Regions from separate parts of the Homo sapiens genome. Here region 1 is linked to region 2. Evidence: promoter capture Hi-C in 16 types of primary human blood cells and fetal thymus (Javierre and others, 2016). All regions are on one chromosome and are shown on one strand. Each heading gives the region's core, a stretch centred on a gene start or on the middle of the fragment in contact. The rest is flanking DNA. Distances are from core to core; before and after follow the strand shown. Region 1 overlaps RFX3 (regulatory factor X3). Region 2 holds the start of RFX3 (regulatory factor X3).

Region 1 (5,501 bases), core at 1,832-4,331, 280 kb after region 2:
TTAAATGTTTGCATTTTCAAAAATAACGCATTTCTTAATTGATTTTATTGTGCTTATTTCTAATGTAAATGTGCCTTAATTTAAGTGGAAATCATTAAGAAACTGGAAACACTTAATACGTTTGCCTTCCAAGGAAACTTGCTGGAATCCCTGTACGTACTTGCCTATACTCTGTATTGCCACATCTGGGAACATTGCTTATTATATTTTGTGAGCTTTGTCTGGCAGAAATGCATCTTTTTTCTAAGGCCTACCCCAGAGATCGTTATCACTGAGAGGGGACAGACTGCCAACCTTCATCAATAGGATTTTCACTCAAGTTGTTTTTCTTAGGGTAGTAATGAGTGGTCAATCTTTCAGACATTTTTGTGTTCAATTCTGATTTATTTGTGAGTTTGGTAGAAGCAGCAGACTTGCCCATGATAGTAGAATGACTTTTTCCATTAAGACTATCTATCTTGAATAAGGATCAAGTCTCCGTGAGGATTACCTCTTTATCATTCTATTTAAATGAGTTGCAACTGCGTTCAATAATGAAATGCTTTCATGGCAGGTTTTATACTATACCAACCATATAGACTCCCAGCTTGACTTTTTTTTAAGAGGAAAAATAGGTAGAATGCTAATTCTTGTCACTAATGTTAGCTGCATATTTGTCTTTTCTCTTGGAACAGCTCAATGGTTATTCGGGACTTAACCTTACGCAGTGCTGCTAGCTTTGGCTCCTTCCACCTGATCCGTCTACTCTACGACGAATATATGTTTTACTTAGTAGAACATCGTGTTGCTCAGGCAACAGGAGAGACTCCTATAGCAGTCATGGGCGAGGTAAGAGAGGCTGAAAGAGCTGTGACCCACTGGGTTATTAAAAATAAGCCAGAATTACACTTCAGTCTAAATACATTATTGATTAAAACCATGGTTCCTAACCAAGTCAGCCTCAGAGCCAGGAGGGACTGTGGAGTTATTGCAAGAGTTCCTTAAATTCCTCTGTTCTTATGTGCTTAATCAAAAGATTCTAAAATTGTGGATTATATCATGTGAAAGTTCATGGAATGTGTCTCTATATTATACAGGTACCTATGTAAAAGAAAAACTTGAGAACCACTGGAATATGAAAAATATTTTAAGTGGGAAAAAGATTGGTGCTCCTGATAAAGCAAAGGGCTGGGAATACAATGGAAAGGATTAAATATGTATTTTGTAGACTCTTTCCCGGTCTCCAAGAACAAAGTAAATGATTCTATTTTAGAAGGATAAAAATGGTAATGATGATAACTAACATTTTTTGGACACTTACTATGTGCGAGGCACAGTTCTATGTTTTTTACATGTAATAAAGCACTTAATGCAAGTCTTTGAGATACGTTCTACTTTATTCTGTTTTACAATAAGCATCCGAGGTTTATGCAGAAAGCTAAGGCACAGAAAGGTTAAATGATTACTCAGCTAAAAAATGGTAGAGATTTTTTTTTCAAACACAGTCTGATTTTCAAACCCATATGCTTCTAACCACTAATGATGTAAGGGGGAAAATTCTCTTCTTCAGAATTTCTGAATAGTCATCAAAATGGCTTATCAAAAAGCTTAAACTCTGAATATAACAAGGGCTGGTTAATATAATGAGGAATAGATGCAAATGCTCAGATGGTTCAGCACTGGCTTATTTTGTTATATTGAATGCAGGAGGCGGGGGTAGTTTATACCTTGTCGAATCATACCAGATTATTAAATGTGACAAATTACCCAAGGCGGTAAAAAAGACATGTTCACTTTTAAGCTATGTGTATGTGCTTATATAAATAAAAAAGAGTGAAAACAGATATTATTCAATGCTTTTCCTAGTTTAATATAATAAGGTATAAATAAAAATACATTAAAATACTTCAAGGACCTCCCTAATATTCTAGTATAAATAAAATGCATGTCAAACTTGCCTAGAAGGTCAGTTGAAATATTCATCTTTTCCACTTCTTTAAAACCCCTTGCTGTATATCCATCTAAATGTCTTTGTATGATGTTCCCTGTTGATGATAAAGCTTAAATGATGCCAAATATATGTGTGAGATTAAGCAGGAATCACTGTGGCTTTTCATTGTAAGCAGGACCTCATGTGACCAAAACAATCTGGACTTTTCTTATATTTGACTTCCCCTCATTGCCTCTTTCTTTACTTGTTTTATAGATGCCTTGTTGGAAAATGCCCAGGTAGCACGTGGACTCAGTACTCTAAAATTTCTTAACTCAGGGTTCAAGACTTCAGAAATGGACCTTGCCTTTTAGTATACTTAACACATTTGCCACTACCTCATATGCTCAAGGACTTCTTTAACAAGATAAATAGGATAATGATGGCGGGGATTCTCATTAACACCATGTGGCTAATCTTGATGCATGGCCTTTGCTTTCCTTGCATCTCTAGGGAACAAAGGCAGTGGATGTGAGCCAGTCACACAGTGTGAAGGCTTAGCAACCTCCTGGTATGCTTGCACAGGCGGCACCAGAATTAAAATGGGCTACATAATCTATAGTGCCAACTCCATTCTAATAGTTATTCTTTTTTTTTTTACTACATGTAAACGATCTAAATGAATATGACAGATTTTACATGAGGCAAAGATATATACGTAAAATCTAAATTTAAAAAATGGTCAAAGATCTAATCATACTTCTTGATTTCTTTGCTTACTCAGTTTATAGGAAAGCCCTTTGACCTGCCTATGCTCATCCATTATTTACCCCAAAAGGCAAATTCAGACTAATTTTATAGGTTTGATCTCCTCATACAACACTGATGCCTCATACACCTGTTTGCTCTCATAGATCTATTGGCCATGGTCATACTATCATATCTAAAATTTCTTGATTTGGGGAAAAGGAGAAGGAAATTCAAAAAATAAAAAGTTTGTTTTCTCATGTTCTCCTCACATTATCCTAAGCCTACCTTCTCTTGGTCCCTTGGGTGACTTCCTTTTCCAATCACCAAATCCAGACGTGCCTGTGTACATAGTGGGAGTAACACATCAGGCCAAAATCCATTGAAATCCATACAAATCACCATAACTCCCAGTCACAGCAAATGGTTTGGAATAATGAGTAATAATAGCAACCACAAAGACAATAACAATTGTCACTATTTACTGAGAGCATATTATATACTTAATGAAGATAATAGTCTTGCTGTATCAACTAATGGCTCTTTCTCAGTAAATGGCGCCACGATCCTCCCAGTTGATTATACCAGACACGTGAGCATTCTTTTTTTATGTCCTTCTATCTTGACTCCCATCTACAACCAATTACCAAGTTCTGTTTCTCAAATCCCTCAGAGTGCAGTCAGTATCGTCTTGTGAAAATGCAAAGCTGACTGTGTCATCCCCCACTTGAAACCCTTCAGTGACTTTCCCTTGTGTTACTAACATGAGCTCTTGCATGATCTGGCCCTGCCCCTCTGATCAACATCAGCCTCCCACTTCCTACTCTTTCTGTTGCAATCACAGTGGCCTTTTCTCTGTTCTCATTCACTAAGGTTTTCTCATCCTTGGACTACTGCATAAATGGTTCTTTCTACCTGGAAGCCTCTGCCCATCTCCCCATGCCCATTCTAACTCCTACTTCATGTTGTAAAAATCAGTTTCTCAGGGAGACTCAGTTACTCCAGAATACCTTAAACAGTTCAAGTCTTTCTGATATGTACTTTTACTTGTCATTCTAGAAGCTCCACAATACTAATTGCACAGTTCTCTGTTTGATTTGTATAGTCAAAGATGTAATACCTGGAAACAATAAAGGACTTTGAGTCAGAAGTGAATTCTACTTCTAGCTCTGTCATGGCTATTAGTATAATCTTGGGCAAATCATGTTGACTTGTGTTGAACTCTAGACTTCTGATCTCCGAAACTGATTTATCATTTATTAACAAGTTTTTATTGTGCAGATACTCTATGCCAAAGCTATCATGATTGGAATATAATGATGAAAAAAATGGATTTTTACCCAGCCTTCGAGGAGCTTAGATTTCAAGTGGGGGATACATATTTACATAGTCACATAACTATAGCTACAAACTTTGTTAAGTGCTTTGAAGGAAAATTAAAGGGATATAAGAATGCTTAAAGCTTGAGGCCCTAAATCTAGCCTGGGAGGACCAGGGAAGTCTTTCCCAAGGAAGTGATGTTTGAGGTAAGAACTAAAGGACAAAAGATGTTAACTCTGTGAAGAGAGAATCTGAAGGTAAGGGGTGAAAAACACCCCAGGCACAGGGGAATGTGCACAGGCCCTGACAGAGGTGGGTGAGAGCACAGCCAAGGGGAAGTTTTCCTGAGAAACCTAACGTTCAAGCACCAGGGAGACCAAATAAACACTGTCAAATGCAACAGACAAGAGGAAAAATTGAATTAGGATAAAAAGTCAAAATTTCAAGTGAAGCTAACACCTACATAGCAGTTGTGTGCCAGGTACAGTTCGAAGTGCCATATATATATGTTAATAACTCACCACAGATCTATAAGTGGATACTATTATTACACCTGTGTTACAAATGATGAAATAAGAGGCCGGGCTTGGTGGCTCACACCTGTAATCCCAGCACTTTGGGAGGACAAGGCGGGTGGATCACCTGAGGTCAGGAGTTTGAGACCAGCCTAACCAATATGGTGAAACCCTGTCTCTACTAAAAATACAAAAAAAATTAGGCGGGCGTGGTGGCATGTGCCTGTAGTCCCAGCTACTCGGGAGGCTGAGACCAGGAGAATTGCTTGAACCCAGGAGGTGGAGGTTGCAGTGAGACAAGGTCACGCCACTGCACTCCAGCCTGGGCGACAAAGCGGGACTCCATCTCAAAAAAAAAAAATAATAAAAATAGAAAAAAAGAAGAAGAAATGAGACACAGAACCAAAAAGTAACTTGCCCAAGGTCACACAACCACTAAATTGTGAAATCAGGTTCTGAAACCACGCAGTCTGGCACCAAAGTCCTTGCTGTTAATCTGCCATGCTTATGACCTGCTACAGATTGGAGTAGGATTGGAGTAGGAACAATTTCAAGGGCAAACCTGCAAAATAGTCACAAACTTTGCTGGGTATTTGTTTTGCCTTTACAGGTGCTTGCTTTGGAAAAGGTGTCAGTTAAATAGTTTCATAAGCAAGCAAAAAGACTTTCCTTTTAAGGTGACTTAAGAACAATGAATGTATCTTTTCAATAATGTGAACTCAGTTTTACTGAGTTTTAAAATTAACATTACTTACATTATTTGAGCAGGCAGGCAGGAAAGAACAACCCGTTTTACATATAAACAAGATATATACAAGCATACAAACTATTACTTTTAAATTGACTTTAATGCTGTCATTTCAATGTTATAAATGTTGTTGGTGTTTTGAAATAAAGACTGCTATACAATGGACTCCCCTAAGCTGGAAACAGCTTCACAGTCCCAAGAAGTTTTCCTGTAAATGTCAGTATGCTACTACATTAATACTGCCTAGTAAATTATTTAAAGC
Region 2 (6,321 bases), core at 3,667-6,166:
GCTCAATAATACTCCATCGTATGACTGTATCACAATTTGTTTTACTCTTTTACTTTTTAAAGACAAGGTCTTGCTCTCACCCAGGCTGAAGTACAGTGGTGTGATCACGGCTCACTGCAACCTTGAACTCCTGGATTCATGCAATTCTCTTGCCTCAGCCTCCCAAGTAGCTGGGACTCCAGGCATGTGCCAACATGCTCAGCTAAGTTTTAATTTTTTTTTGTAAAGACAGAGTCTCGCTATGTTGCTCAGGCTAGTCTCAAACTCCTGGCCTCCAGTGATCCTCATGGCTTGGCCTCCCAGAGTGTTGGGATTACAGGTGTTAAGTCATTGTGCTGGGCCCACAATTTGTCTTCCCATCCTCCTATTGATATACATTTGAATTGTTTCCAGACTATTTTTTTTTTTTTGAGACCGAGTTTTGCTCTTGTTGCCCAGGGTGGAGTGCAATGGTGCGATCTCGGCCCACCGCAACCTCTGCCTCCCAGGTTCAAGCGATTCTCCTGCCTCAGCTTCCCAAGTAGCTGGGATTACAGGTATGTGCCACCACACCCAGCTAATTTTGTATTTTTAGTAGAGATGGGGTAACTCCATGTTGGTCAGGCTGGTCTCGAACTCCCGATGTCAGGTGATCCACCCGCTCGGCCTCCCAAAGTGTTGAGATTAAAGGCGTGAGCCACCACGCCCGGCCCCAGACTTTTTTTTTTAAAGCTGCATGTGTACATCAAAAGGTAATTTGGTGTTAAGCAAAGGTAGTCAACTTATGATTCTATAATCATCTTTCTGTGCTGGAGTAAAAATGTAATTCCAAGACATACACATGCACACAAACGTGTGTACACATAGCCACACACACTCTTCAGAACTGCCGAGTAATCAGCTGGTTTGTATTACTTAAAGAAAACACAGAAAGACAAATCTACCAGAAAAAATTATTGCACTGTTTTCAAAACCAAATCATACTTTAGGTGGGGATAGGGAGGCTTGAGGGTGCTCCAGAGAATAGTGGCAAATTATGTTCAGTTTTGAATTACCTTGGCCCCTATCACTCTCTTATCATTTTTAAATAATTATCACATATCCACAGAATTTCAGATCTAGTAAAGGGAATTAGCAATCGAGTAATAAAATTATCCAGTATTCCACATAAGTGCTCAATAAATATTGGTACAAATGAAACCATTCATTTTATATAAGAGAACCCAAGACTCTACATCTCTCTCTCAATTGAAGAAAATAGGATATAATCAAATGAAAAAATTTAAAACAGGTGTGATTTCTCTCATAAAAAGATTCACCACAAATTCAACAATAAGGTGCCACAGCATACATTACTTTTCAAACTCTCATACTATTTTTCAGAAGCAAGCCTATCACATAGCACTATTTTATCTTTTCATATGCATCCTTTCTTTTTTAAAGTATAATAATGAAATAACTTATTAGTCCTTGAATATGGAGTAGATATGAATAGGCAAAAACACTCTAATAGATAATACAGAAATCTACCACTACGAATGTGTTAAAGTAACTTATGAAATACACAATCTATATATATCATCAGGGCTTCAGATTTTTCTTCAAGTAGTTCAGATACAAATGTGTTATTCCATGTCTCTTCCAATCATTCTGATCGGAGAGAAAAAAACAATCCAAGTTAAAACACAACATTCTAAATTAATAGATAATGTTGAACATTTTACATTCAGGAACTATGTCTGCCCAATTTTAGCTTGGTTATGTACCTTTTTTTATTGATCACACAGTGTGTTTTGCACTATAATAGGTGATAACTGTTAGAGTGGTCCAATACTGGGTCTTTTCTGTGACTTCTTAGCAAATAATTTATTTCTGAAACATACATGCAACATATGTGAAGATGCATCTATGCAGCTTTAAAAAATGGCTAAAAAAAATCCTACAAGCAATAACTATGGGTTAAAAGGTTTCTGGGTTCTTTTGTAACTAATTACAGTATTAAACAATACATGCATATAAAATCCGTATTTTCGATTCTATAGCTTGAACTGGTATCTTGGTCATCTGATTCAGTGTGGTGGTGTATTTGTACCTTTTCACACTGCTATAAAGAACTGCCGGAGACTGGGTAATTTATGAAGAAAAGAGGTTTAACTGACTCACAGTTCTGCAGGCTTAACAGGAAGCATGACTGGGAGGTCTCACGGAAACTTACCATTATGGCGGAAGGCGAAGGGTACAAGGACTTTCTTCACATTGTGGCAGGTGAGAGAGGGGTAGTGGTAAATATTTTTAAACAAGCAGATCTCGTGAGAAGTCACTCTTGAAACAGCACTAGTGGGATGGTGCTAAACCATCAGAAACTGCCCCCAGGATCCAATCATCTCCCACAGGGCCCCTCCTTCAACACTTTCGGATTACGATTTCACATGAGAGTTGGGTGGGGACACAAAGCCAAACCCTATCAGGCAGTAACACTAACATTTCAAATATTAACCTCAATATGGTTAGAATTGTATCATCATCAAGTATCCTAAAACATGGGAAAATATTCTAAATTCTAAATTTTCAAGAATTAACTTCAGGAAATTTATCTATTCCTAACTCTGGAAAAGACCAAATCTGTAAGGCAAAAAAAAAAAAAAAAAAAAAAAAAAAAAATTTAAGCAGCTTAAAACTGATTCTATAATGTCCTAGCACAAGGGTTGCACTTATTTTTTAATAGTCCCTCGAAGTACCTATTTATACTCTTGAGATACAGTTTTGCACAAGGTTCACTATGTGGTTTTCTTGCCTGCAGATTAAGAGCAATAAATTAAAAGGGCGGTAAGGATAATAGAACTATGTTCACTGACAAAAATAAAAAGCAACAGCTGACAATGAAAGACGGGACAGGCAAACTATAACAGACAATGGAATTTAAAAAAACAAAGCTATTCAGAGAGCCATGTAGTGTGAACATACAGCCCTACACACCATTATAGGAATGAGGACTTTATCAGTAAATATAATAAAGAGAATATTCATAACGACTACCAGTTTTCATAAAGCTGGAACGTATACCTCATTTCCCATCTGTATGTCAAATGGGACCCACACTGGTCACCACACAATCATTTGTCTGACTAGAAGCCCTTACTACCACAGTGGGTCAGGAAACCTTTTAGCTTTAGCACTAGGCTCACCACTGTTCACTACTGCAACACATTATTATTGTAAGAACATCTCTAACTCATGAGATTATCAAAGGCAACAATATTACTTTTAAAAACGTACCCAAAGTAGCTGGTTCCTAAAACAAGGTAACCTTGTATTCTATGGCACGCAGCCATAAACTAAAACCACCGACTTTTAGGACTCTCGGCCTGTTTTTCCTCAAATGCGAATATTACCTAACACTGGTGTTGTTGGGATTACATGAGATAATGTATGTAAAACACTTAGCACCAGTTCTGGGACACAGAATGAGCTCAGTATTATTTTAGCGCTGGTGAACGCATGCCGGCCCAAATCCCTTACTTGCAGGTGCAAAAATTAAGCCTCAAGAGGAGAACTGACTTCCTAAGGCTCTACTTCTACTATGTCATTGTCCTGGTTAAGCAGCTTAGCGGCAAATGTTGGGAGATTTTGGGTATTGGCAGGGCCTGGGGGCATGTGCCTGCTGGACTCGAGTCTGCAGAGAATTGGAGGAGTCTGTTTGAACCATGAGGCATTACAGGCTGTGCCTTATCAACGGGTGTTTGAGATGGCAGGTTGTGTTAACAACATTCAACACAGACGGAAGCCATTCGTCTATCTCAATACAGCCACAAACAGCAAGACCCTCAGCTACAGTAGGCTGAGTAACGGGGGATGAGAGCACGGCAGGTAACAGGATCCGGGCTTGAGCTCAACTCCCAGTTCGGTCTTTAAAGAGGGGTGAGCACTTAAGGGCTGAAACTAACAGAACTAGAAACTAACAGGATGGTATCGCAGGCAGGTGTAAGCTACCCCGCCCCTCTACGCCTTCCGTCGAGGGGAACCGCCAAATGCGCTTTCTCAGCCTCCGGGCAGGGCAATTTCTTGCTCTCTACAGGCACTTACTCCCATCCCTTGTAGATAGGGAGTGATGACCTCGCTTTTTCGTTATGGAGTGAGGGCCGGACACGCTTGGACCTCACCTCTCCGCGCCACGCTGCGGCGGCACCGCGGGAGGCCGACTCGCGCCCACGCACACCCCACGCTCGCCTTCTCTAAGATGGCGGCAGAGGCAGCTCGCTCACGCCCCGCCGCCCGCGCTCCTCCACAAGTCGTGCCCTCAGGAGGCGGGAGCGGGTGAGAGCGCGGAAAGCAGGAGGGCGAGAGTGACGCGGACCCTCCAGTCTAGCGCAGGCCGCGGAGCCCTGAAGCGTCCAGGAAAAGGAAAAGCCAGGAGGCTGACGCTACCAGGAACACCGCCGGCGCCTCAGAAACTAAAAAGCGGCGGCACATCCGGGCCCCTCTGCCCGCCCCGCCCCGGAAGTAACGTATCGGGCAGGGCGGGGGCCGCTCTTCAAAGTGGATTCTTCCCTCGCCATAGCTCGTTTCTTCACAAAGTGCCTGGAATCACCCTCGCCACCCCCTCCCCCGGGTTAGCCGTTACTCTCTCGTGGCTCCGGGACGTCTCTGTACAAAGCTGGCTGCTGGGACAGGCAGCCCTCGTTTCACAGATAGTACCCCTCGCACCACGACTCCTGGGCCTCGCCAGCGCGTGTAGTAACGTCCCTCCGAGAGGACTCTTGGTGACCTCAGCCCCAGCCAAGCATAGGCGCACCTCTTCGGAGTCCTGCGGTGGAATCCCGGCCTCGTGCCCCGTCACCCCGCCGCCCCGCCACCCCACCCGGGTTTGGGGGCCGTCAGTCACAGCGCTGCGCCCTCCCCTTCCGGCGGCTTGGCCGGGCCCGCCTCCTCCCCTCTTCCCTCCCCCACCCCTCCCCGTGCGAGTGTCTCCCTCTCCCTCTCGCTCTCTCTCTCTCTCCCTCTCTCTCTCTCTTTTGTGAGTTATAGCAACCGTTGCCTTGTGAATCAAGCGCCATAGTCACCGTAGTCCTGGCGACTGTTACCCATCAACAACAACTACTCCTCTCCTCCTCCTCCTCCTCTTCCTCCTCCTCCTCCCCACCACCACCATCTCCATCACCCACCAACAACACCACAATAATCCACAGCCAAGGTGAATATTCTTCGGTCTCTACATGTGTGTGGGAGCGTGTGGCTGCGTGTGAACGCGTGTGTCCGTGCGTGTGTGTGTTCGTGTGTGCGAGCCGAGTGTGGCTGTGCTGGGGTCTCACTCCTGACACGGGGGCTGCCGCTGCGGCGCCGCCGCCGAGGGGCTCTGTTCCCCGGGCTTGTTTACAATGGACCCTGCGCGCCGCGGCTGGGTCGGGGGTGTGGGCGCCGCGCCGCCCGCCGGCCCCGGCCCTGCGCCGGCCGCACTTCAGGGATGGAGCGGGAGCTTGGGGGGCTGCGAGCCGAGCGGGAGAGGGAGCCACAGTTTTCCGATGCGGATGCTGGATCTTTCCCTTAGGTCTGGTCTGAGGAGGAGGGTCAGGTGAAGAGATAAGAATTTGTTCTTTCTTTAATTTTCTTCTTTTCCAACGCTGCTGTTTCCTGCTTCTTTCAAAGCCGAAATAGACAACAGTGTGCAAGGGGGGGACCCAAGAGGTGGTGTTTTGTTGTTGTTGTTGTTCACTTGTGGGGCCTTGTTATGGGTTTTGTTATTTTTAATCCTCATACGTTGGTGAACTTTTCCCACCGCCCATTCCCTTCATTTTTGCCCCTCTTTGCCTGGTGCTGAATGGGCTGCTCTTCTTTCACCATCATCAGCTTCATGGTTTTCTTTTTTCTTTTTAAAACTGTATTTTCTTTGTGCGGCAAACAGTCTTAACATCCATTCAGCACTCTTCCCTCCCCCTCTTTCTCCCCCCCCCCACACACCCCTTGCACACATATTGAAACCTGGGGCCTGTTCGTTGGGCCCTCTTTGCTGTACTGGGAAAGATGTTTTTCTTTTTTAAAGTCTGTCTCCTCTCTCTTCTTTGGTGTGTGTGTGTGTGTGTGTGTGTGTGTGTGTGTGTGTGTGTGTGTGTGTGCTTGTGATTTAAACCGGATGCAGGGCATCTGTGATACTTGGGTTAGTAGTTATTGACAGTGCTTTATCCTTCATGTGGAGGTGGGAGGGGGAGTAGTGAGGTTCCGTTTCACTTTGATGATCCTCCTTCCCCGCAGTAGAGTGTTAACAATTTTCATTGTGATTATGAGACTTTGTGATGAACAGGGAAGGGACACAAGGAAGCTTTGTGAGAACTCAGTTCACAGTGTTAT

Evidence for each region. The method cuts DNA at HindIII sites, captures the fragments that hold promoters and counts their contacts. A CHiCAGO score of 5 or more calls a contact.
Region 1: a contact is called between a fragment that was not itself captured here and the fragment with the promoter of RFX3 in region 2, in 2 of 17 cell types (neutrophils and M1 macrophages). The highest score is 7.9, in neutrophils.

What each region holds. Positions count from the first base shown.
Region 1 is chr9:3,243,359-3,248,859 of GRCh38, reverse strand. It overlaps RFX3 (regulatory factor X3), which reads left to right. Exons shown (of 17, transcript NM_001282116.2): 15 at 675-828. Among named protein-coding and RNA genes, the nearest start is that of LINC01231, 65 kb to the right of the region's middle. The HindIII fragment of the contact is 2,079 bases long and covers 2,042-4,120 here.
Region 2 is chr9:3,524,596-3,530,916 of GRCh38, reverse strand. It overlaps RFX3 (regulatory factor X3), which reads left to right and starts at 4,916. Exons shown (of 17, transcript NM_001282116.2): 1 at 4,916-5,170. It overlaps LOC124902110 (a long non-coding RNA gene), which reads right to left and starts at 4,432. Exons shown (of 8, transcript XR_007061398.1): 1 at 4,140-4,432. RefSeq lists enhancers at 3,972-4,271, 4,532-4,581, 5,159-5,775 and silencers at 4,762-4,951, 5,382-5,471. The HindIII fragment of the contact is 14,491 bases long and covers 1-6,294 here.